2 separate regions of the Homo sapiens genome follow, and region 1 is linked to region 2. Evidence: promoter capture Hi-C in 16 types of primary human blood cells and fetal thymus (Javierre and others, 2016). All regions are on one chromosome and are shown on one strand. The core of a region is centred on a gene start or on the middle of the fragment in contact, and the rest is flanking DNA. Distances in the headings are between cores, read along the strand shown. Region 1 holds the start of LOC105375253 (a long non-coding RNA gene). Region 2 holds the start of STK17A (serine/threonine kinase 17a).

Region 1 (4,773 bases), core at 754-3,253, 630 kb before region 2:
CAGCATGTAGCATCTGGCCTATTTTTCAGCATTTCCATTGTGTTTATTACTCCCTATCATCTGGGTTAGTAGAATGCACAAACAGAATAATAAAAACCCAAATGGCAAAATTAACTGAGGCTTTTAAAATTCCTTGGCCAAAATCCATTCCATTGGTTTTGCTAAACAAAAGATTTACTCCTTTTGGTAAAATAACAGTTATCTCCATTTAAAATAACAGGCAAACCTATCAAAATGTCTCCTAGAAATTGTGCCACCTTGTGACTTAGTAAAATAATCTTTTCACAGAAAGCTTCTTGGAAACATAAATCTAAAGAACCACAGACTTGAACCTGGAGATTTTGTCTATTGGAAACATTTCTTAAAAGATTGTCTCCAACCAGGATACAGCGGACCTTACCAGGTACTTCTTACTAATTCTTGTGCTGCTAAACTAGAAGGCATAGACTCCTGGATTCACGTCTCACATCTAAGGAAAGCTGAGCCTCCTGAATAGACTGTTTCACCAGAGAGTAATCTTCTACTTAAAATAAGGCGATGCCAATTGAGAAGAAGATGGTCGCAGACATGGTTGGGTGTCCCAAGACCTGGACCAGGTCTGTATCTAAATTAATGCTTAATATTAACAATTGTTAATAGATGGAGAATATTTTATTTTACAAGCTTCCACCCAACTTCTTTTTTTTTTCTCCTTAGTTCTCATGCCTTGGTACTACTATACCACTTGTTGCCCATAAAGCAACCTCTTTTTGCAATGGGCCCAACACTATGCTAATAGGTTACAAAAGGATGCTCATTGGGTATGTGGTCTCATGTCCCTTTCCAGTAGTTCTGGATTTCCCATGGTGGAAATCTCTTCAAGGGCAAGATTGGATAGAATATCAGAAATATTATATATCCATGTTTCCCCAGCACAGTTATTGGTACTTAACACTAGTATGACTAAACATAATAACCATCACTGGTCTATTACTAATACCTTACAAAATAAAGGGTAAGGGAAGAACTTCTCCATAAAAGAAATTAATTCACTAGCTTTAACGCTGTGCTGCCCCAGTTGAGAGACGAAACAGACACTGCCCCAATTGAGAAATAAGACTGCAACCAAATGTAGGTTCAGCTGCTCACCACTTGCAAAACTAAATAACAAGGACAAGGTTCAGTATAAGGAAATTGACTTCATTTTCCAAAGCTAACAGTGGGGAAGTGGTTCAGGCTCCTGCCTTAATGAAACTGCTTCAAAATTCTTGGGCAAAATGCTAGGGTTTAAGAAGGGGAAGTTTGGTATGGAGGATATGTGGTGGGTGGGGGGTGGTGGGTGGGGGCGTGAGAGGTGGTGCTGGTCTACGTGGCTTGTTTTGATGACTTATCTTGAGTTATTGTCCCATCTTGAGAATGGGTTGACACCATCTCAGGCTTGACCAGGTTGTAAATTAGCTGCTGCCTTGAAGTAATCTTCTGGTGGGAGATAATTCCATAGGCACCCAGATTGTCTCAAGATTCAATCCCTGGAACTTCTAAGCAAACATAATTAGATAAGTTAGCAATGCAAGGAAGTACCTGGTAGAAAGAAGGAGAGTAAAGCTTATTATTTCATTACTAATAAGTTGTAGAAAGGACTGCAGAAAGAAAAAGAAAAAAATAACAAAAATAGGGTCCTTGGTTACAACACCTCACTATCAAATGCCATTCTATTTCTATGGAACTCAAGTGACATATTCATTCTAGCTACTTCCTATTGCAAAGGGGTGTAGTTAAAAGGTATTGGAATGGAACTGATCTACTTGGAGGTGAAAGTGTTCTCAGGTACCTGGGCTCAGATGAAACCTGTTGCAGCATTATGGTGGAGAGCCTTGCAAGTCCCTGAGAAAGTCTATCTAGTATCCCATGCAAAAGGCGCTGCAGCAGTAAAACCCACAGCACAGAAGTATCCCTATTTCCCACAATTATAGTGAGAATTACCAGTAACTGTTCCCATCAGGATGGTCCTGACCCAAACTAGGATGTAAACCATCTAATGGCAATGTAGGGTCTGGGTTTAACATGGCTTGAATTTCTTGCATGTCTTATGTATGTATGTATATATACGTGTATGTGTATGTATATATGTATATATACGTGTGTGTGTGTATGTATATATGTATATTTAACAGATTACAGGAGGAGCTATGAATATTCATGAAGATGGTTATAAACCCTGTCTAGTTCTTAAGAATGGATCAGTTTAGTTAAATGGCTGTTTCCCATTCCAGGAGGTGCCATTGCAGATGGGCTAGGTCTCAATATGTGATGAAGGTGAATAGGAGGTATTTTTATGGAAACAGAAGAAAAACAAAGTTGATGTTGGGCAGAATCTATCTTCAGTTTCAAAAGAAGAAGGCAGTGGCAATCTGACTCATTTTTCTCACCTGTGTCTCAAGGAATAAGCTTTAGCTTGTAAGGCCTCAGTAAAAAGGTAGCAGCAATTTTATTGAGTCCAAGTCAAAAAACTGGAAAAAGAAATTTAAAAGCATTAGTCTGGGGAATTGTTGCCTGGAAAAAATAAAGATTCATTCCAAATTGCAGAAAATAATACAGATCCAAAAACAATGGACAAGACTACACTCTAACAATAGGTGTACTATAGTTTTTTTTTTTGAAACACAAATTTTCTTTTTTCAGTCCCCATTTTTACTAAAGACAAATCATGGAACTATTTGTAAAACAAGTTTTAGTATTATTATATTTGGCCTGATTAGCCTCATTATTTGTATAAAGTGCAGCAAGAATAATTATTTGCCATATAGGCCCTTTTAAAAAAATTGACTTTGCTGGAATGCTATTTTTTTATAAGAAATCTCAGATTAGACTGTTTAAAGCCCTGAGTTCAGCCATGGATTTATCTGCCTGCAAATATCTGTATGAATTGGGTAAATTCTTCTCCTTTCAAGATCCCATAAAAACTTGGAGCTCCTAGGCCTGTCAGAAAGTGACATTCTTTACTTACCACAGGTCAGGAAACCTATATAGGGACTATATAGACAAGAGGTGAGGCCAGTTTTTCTTAGGGGCCTTTTATCAGCTCTGTAAGTCAACTTTGATTCCTTAAAGCAGTCTGTTTATAACTGAAACCATGCCATTCCAGTCAAAGCCTTGGTAAAATAACCAGTGCCTTCAATGGTGTCCTGTTTAAAAAAAAAGAAAACAGATTTTTATTGAACTTATAGAAATAAACATACTGCCATAAATTAAGTATACTTACAAATAGTTTTCAAATTCTGGAGAAATCAGGTAAAGGACAGAAATGTTTCAAATTTTTCTCACAAGAATATACTCTGTAAATCACTCAAAAGAAAAAGAAAGATTTTCTGGACTTTGAAAAACAAAGGAATTACCAATACTTTAAACAAAAAGTCATAAAAAGATTATTTTGGTCTTCCATTAGTTCAGTCTGTGTAATCAACTCTTTTTCTGCTTGATATTCATGAACACATTAGCTCTTCATGGGAGTCTTGGAAGTTTTTTACTTTATTCTAATGTCATACTCTCAAAAGTTATCAGAAACCTGCATTCAAGAGCACCTACCTATAGGATCAGAGTCCTATAGCTGATTATAAATCCGCATTTTGAAAAGAATCAAAATAAAACAACAATTATAGATGACAACAGTTTCAGAGCAGCCTTGGTTGAAGACACAATTGACAAGGAAATTTCATTATCTCTGTGGCACACAATAATTTAACATAGCAACCATTAATTATTACTGATAGCATATACTGAGATATATCAGAATTATAGGAATCTTACACAGTTTTGGAACAGATATTAGTAATACATTTATATGAATGTATAATGAATCCAAGAAAGTTAAACATTATTTTATATTTCACAATGCTTCCTGTATGATTTTAATATCCAAATAAGTCAAATATGTCTCTTTTAGACTTCAGGAGATGTAATATTTAAAAAGGTTAATGAGATCTAAAAAGGCTTAATTTAGAACTTGGAATTTCAATTTTGGAAGGTTTGTCAAATATCAACGGCTTAAAACATTTGATAACACAAAATGGAATCACAGATTATTCATTTAGCTGAAATGACAACTCAAAAATATCAAAAGACAAAAACCTTTACTCACTAATAGAGGGGAGACTCAGTTTTCTAAACAACAAACTGATATAGTTTGTATATTTGTCCCCACCCAAATCTCATGTTGAATTGTAATTCCCAGCATTGGAGGTGGGGCCTGGTGGGAGGTGATTAGATTATGGAGGTGGATTTTTCATGAATGGCTTAGCACCACCCACTTGGTGCTGTTCTCACAATAGTGAGTAAGTTCTCATGAGATCTGGCTGTTGAAAAGCGTGTGGCACCCATATTCTCTCTCTCTCTTGCTCTTGCTTTGTGAGATGCCTCCTCCCCCTTTGCCTTCTGCCATGATTGTCAGCTTCCTGAGGCCTCCCTAGAAGCCCAGCTGATGCAAGCACCATACTTTTTATAAAGCTTGCAGAATCGTGAGCCAATTAAACCTCTTTTCTTTATAAATTATCCAGTCTCAGGTATTTCTTCATAGCAAGAAAAGCCTAATACAAAGACCCAATAAAGAAAACACCAGGCCAACTAAATCTGTCTCTTCTCTCTTTCTGTCTTTTTTTTCTTTGTTTTCTTTGTTTTCCTGTAGCTTACTCAAAAGTCAAAGAAAACCCTTTCATTATCTCTCAATATTATATGAAAATTTTGTTTAAAAAAGAAAAACAAATTTCACCTTTGTATTGTTGCATTACTAACAGTGAA
Region 2 (5,065 bases), core at 2,443-4,942:
AAAGATCACGGTCCACCATAACAGATATAATAGTAATAATAAAGTTTGAAACATAGTGAGAATTACCAAAATGTGACAGAAAGAAATGAAGACAGCACATACTGTTGGAAAAATGGCACTGGTAGACTTGCTTGATGCAAGGTTGCCACAAACCTTCAGTTCGTAAAAAATGTAATATCTGCAAAGTGCAATAAAGCAAATTGCAATAAAATGAGATATGCCTGTATTTACATGGCATAATTCTTTCCATCCTTTCAATCTTTCTGTAGCCTTTTATTTGAGGTGTCTCTTACAAGCAACATATAATTGATATTATTTTTAATTCTGTCCATAGCATTTGCCTTTTAACTGGAGTATAGATTCCATTTATATTTAATGTACTTGCCAAAAAACCCTCCTGTTTTAAAAAATTTACCTTTTTTTTTTTTTTTGAGACAGAGTTTCACTCTGCTGCCCAGGCTGGAGTGCAGTGGTACAATCTCGGCTCACTGCAGCCTCCGCCTCCTGGGTTCAAGTGATTCTCCTGCCTCAGCCTCCCGAGTAGCTGGGACTACAGGTGCCCACCACCACGCCTAGCTCGTTTTTTGTGTTTTATTTTAATAGAGATGGGGGTTTCACTATGTTGACCAGGCTGGTCTCGAACTCCTGACCTCAGGTGATCTACCCTCCTTGGCTTCCCAAAGTGATCATCTATTTGTTTCTACTTGTCTGTGTTCCTTTTTTCCCTTTCTTGCTTCTTTTATTTTTTATTTTTTCATTTCCCCTCTTTTTTACATGTTATTCATTCTTTTTCTATTACTTTTGCTGTTATTCTAGAGATTATAATATTCATTATTGATGTATTAAAGCCAAGTACTTTTATCAATTCCTATACAATCCTAGGACTTTAGAACACTTTACTTTCATTTACTCTATCTCACTTTTTGTGCTGCTATTGTGTATATTTTAATTCTACATATATTTAAACTTCACATGACGTTATTTTTATTGTTTTATATAAATTGTGTTTATTTATATCTATCCATATATATATATGTATTTATATCTATCCATATATAAAAGGATTGATTGCTCTTCATTCCTTTAGATGTCTCCATGATTTCATTTGGGATTATATTCCATCTGCCTGAAAAACTCCTTTTGGAATTTCCTTTAATGTAAATCAGCTGATGATCTTAGTGTTTCTTGGTTATAAAACTGGCTGTATTTTATTTTCAATTTTGAAGATCATTTTTACTGGGTATATAATATAGGTTGATAGGTAATTTCTCCTAGCGCTTTGAAAACATTTGAAGGTGTTTAGGCTTCCATTGGTTCTTTGAGAATAAGCTTTTAATTTTATTGTTGCTCATTTGCAGATTATATCTCTGTTTTCTTTGCTGATTTTAAACCTTTTCTTTTTGATTTTGTTTCTCAGTAGTTTACAATGTGCCTAGACATGGTTTTCTTTGCTTGAAATCCTGCTCTATGTTCATAATGTTTCTTGACTCTGAGAATTGTTGTTCATTAGTTTTAAAAAATTTCCAGCCGTTATCTTTTCAAATACTGCTTCTTTTCCTTTTTTCTCTCACCTCTCTTCCTGATATTCCAATTACGTGTGTGTTAGAATGTTTTACCACATATCACATGTGTCATAGTCTCCTTTCTGAGACCTTATCTCTTTTATAGAAAGTTCTTTCATATCTCTTGTATGTCATTTTTCATATTTTGTTTTGCTTATTAGCTTCACTAATTCTTGCTTAAGTTGTATCTCATCTGTTATTAAGCCCATAATTCTGTAGTAGTTTTAGTTAGTGTGTTTTTTTCTCCAATTCCAAAATTCCATTGTATTCTTCTTTGGAGTTTCCAGTTCTCTGCTGAAAACTCTTTATCTTGCAATTTAATTTCTTGAAGATATTTAACAGAATTATTTTAAAATCTGTCTTTAAACTTTAATATCTGGATCTTCTGTGTGTTTATTTCTGTTTTCTTTTTCCCTTAGTTTTTAAGACAATTCTGTGTCCTTTGTTTAAATTAAGTTTCAGACATGGTGTATAAAATATTATATGGGTAATGTGTTGCTCTGAATGATGCTTTTTTTCCCCAGAGAGAATATTTACTGTTGCCATTTGAAGCTGGTTTTCAGCCCTTGGGTCTATTTCCCGTTCATCCACACCCCTAGGGTATAGCTCTTCGGAGTCCCAGCTGAAAGCCTAGTTGCTTACCAGCCCCTCATCATAAATAGGTCCTAAACTCCAATTTTTTTTTTGTCTCCCCAACCCCATGAGATGACTGAAAGCTCTGCTTACTTTCTCACTCTTTCAGCCATGGCTTTAAAATCATCAAATACCTCATGGGAAAAGTGGTGGCTTTCTGAGCTGCCTATCTTTCCAGGATTTCAGTCATCCAAGTCCTTGCTGGGAGAGGAAATTTTTAACTTTTGTCAACTTTTCTATTTTTTCTTAGTGAGAATATTGAACACAAATAAACTAGTATATCAGTGCCAGAAGCAAAACTCCACTGAGACAGTCTGAGTAGAGCAGTGGTGTGATTTGGTTTCGATTTTTAAAAGATCACTCTCATTGCCTTGAAAATGAACTATGCGACATTAGGGAGAAAGAAGGATGGAAGCAGGTGGTCCAGTTAGTAAACTATCACAATAATCCAGGTAAGAGATAACGATGGCTCAGGCCATGGTGGTAAGGTGGAAATAGAGAGAAGTGATCAAACGCCGCATCTAGTTTGAAGGAAAAGACAAGAGGGTTTACTGACAAACTGGAGATGAGCATGAGAGAGGAATCAATGCTCATCCCAAGATTTTTGGCCTGAACAGCTAGAAGGAAGGAGATGAAGAAAACTGAGACGGGGAAAGCTGGGTAGGAGTGCATTCATGAAGACCAATCAGCAACTTACTTTTGTGTATGTTAAGTCTGAGATGCTAATTTGACATGTAAGTGGAGATGCCAAATGCATAGTCAAATACACCAGTCTGAAGTTCAGGGAATATTTGGAAGCTAGAGATACAAATTCTGTAGTCATGAGCATATAGATGGTAATTAAAGTCGTAAGACCGGATGAGAGGACCTCGAAAGTAAATATAGAGACGACTACAGACAATATAATAGTGTCTATTTCATAGGGCCGGTGTGCAGGGTTAATAATATTTATACAACTCTGCCTCCAGACCCCTCTCCCAGTGTACGGAGATCAGGATCTCATCACCCCTCCCCACCACGTGAAGTCCTGCTTACAGCTCAAATGCCTTTTATTAACCGAAGTGCCTCCAGACCCCTCCCCTCCTCACCACGTGAAGTCCCGCTTACAGCTCAAATGCCTTTTATTAACCGAAGGTCAGCTTTTGTGACTCTCAGACGCTCAACAGGTGCGCAACTCTGCTAACGCAGTAGGCTGTCCTGGCCAAAGGGTGGTGCTGTGAGTCGCCTCCAGCCTCCGGGCCGTCCCGAAAGCTGCACCTTCTCCCCCTGAGCTGCAGAGGGCGCGCGTGAGGCATCGGGCGCTCAGGACCCCGCGGGAGCTCAGCGAGGGGGCGGGCGGCCACGGAGTGAGGCCGGGGCGGGGTCGGGCGCGGGGCGGACGTGGGGAGGGGTTGGCCGGGGCCAGAAGCAGGGTGCAGGGCAGGCGCGGGGCGGTCACGGGGGCGGGGCCGGTCGCGGGGCGCGGGGCGGGCCCGAGCTACCGGTAGTCTGCCTGCCGCAGTCCGAGCGCCGCGCTGGGGAGAGCGGGTGTTTGAAGGCTCCGCGGACCGGCACTAGGAGCCGGGGGCGGGTCCGTGACCCTCCGGCTGCTCGGAGTGAACAGGCGGCCAGGAAAGAAGCGGGCCTGAACACCATGATCCCTTTGGAGAAGCCAGGCAGCGGCGGCTCCTCCCCAGGCGCCACCTCAGGCTCGGGCCGGGCAGGCCGGGGTCTGAGCGGGCCGTGCCGGCCGCCGCCGCCGCCCCAGGCCCGCGGGCTGCTGACAGAGATACGCGCCGTGGTGCGCACCGAGCCCTTCCAGGACGGCTACAGCCTGTGCCCGGGCCGGGAGCTGGGCAGGTGAGGACGGGCGGGGCCCGGCGCGGAACCTTCCCGGACGCGCGGGGCGGGACGTGGGCGCCGATAAGTGCCGGCGCCGCGGCGGCGAGGCTGAAGTGGCGTTGCTGCTGCCGATAACGCGCGTTGTGACTTGGCACAAACTTGGGTGCCGACGGCAAGTAGGGCAGCCGAGTCGCACCAGCGCCCCCTCCACGCGCCGCGCCCAGCAAGCGAGTGGTGGTAACTCGATGGCGGTCCCGGAGGCGCGGACACTTTCCTCAGCCCTTTCGTTCTCTGTGGCGTTTCGAATGGCTATTTAACGAGAGAAGGTGCGGGCCGCGCTCTGCCTTTCACCCCGAGCAGCGGGTCTGAAAACCAGAGGTCTGTGGAGCCGACTTTGCATTTTTCCTTCAACTCTTGCGACTTTCTTGGTCTGCCTGTGTGGTTTTAATAAAATACAGCATCCGTTGTGACCGCTTCCTTTGCACCGGCGCTCTGTTACCTTGTGTCGGTCTTCTGCTGAATTCATTTTCGTTTTCTTGGTTGGTTTTCTGCCGTTTTAGTTCTAAAGCATTTAGGTCCCTTTGCTTCGAGTTTAGATTGGTTTCTTTCGTGGGCGCTTGGCCCTTTTCTCGCTTTTTACTTTGCTGGGAACCGATTCTTGCCTTCTCCCCCCACCCCACGCTAGCCCACCCTTTTTTTGTGGGAGTAGAGAGAGCTTACAACTTGGTCTGTAAAGTTGCAGGTGCAGGCTGTTCGGATGCTTTACATTTTGTATGCTGAAGAGGGGTGATCGAGTGATTTTTGTGGGGTTTGGCGACTCTTCCTTGAGAACAGTTTGAAGAAGTTGTTAAATACTCTGGCTTTGGGGGCAGACCTGAGTTCATATTCGTGCCCTTCTTGCTGTGTTTGCCTTTGGAGGGGTTAGACTCTCCAGCCTCACTTTCCTCATCCGTAAAATCGTATAATGATGACAGTACCTACCTCAGAGGTGGCCTGAAGATGCCATGCTTGTCAAGCGCATACCACTGGGCTTGCCACATGGCGTTCAG

Evidence for each region. Contacts are between HindIII fragments. The CHiCAGO score rates a contact against its expected background, and 5 or more counts as called.
Region 1: a fragment that was not itself captured here is called in contact with the fragment with the promoter of STK17A in region 2 in 1 of 17 cell types (M1 macrophages); the score reaches 6.2 in M1 macrophages.

The regions. Positions count from the first base shown.
Region 1 is chr7:42,952,969-42,957,741 of GRCh38, forward strand. LOC105375253 (a long non-coding RNA gene) reads right to left here and starts at 3,161. Exons shown (of 3, transcript XR_927207.3): 1 at 2,987-3,161; 2 at 2,409-2,489; 3 at 1,159-1,517. The HindIII fragment of the contact is 843 bases long and covers 1,583-2,425 here.
Region 2 is chr7:43,579,416-43,584,480 of GRCh38, forward strand. STK17A (serine/threonine kinase 17a) reads left to right here and starts at 3,693. Exons shown (of 7, transcript NM_004760.3): 1 at 3,693-4,034. The coding sequence starts at 3,829. RefSeq lists a silencer at 3,313-4,092 and enhancers at 4,493-4,542, 4,673-4,782. The HindIII fragment of the contact is 5,737 bases long and covers 1,328-5,065 here.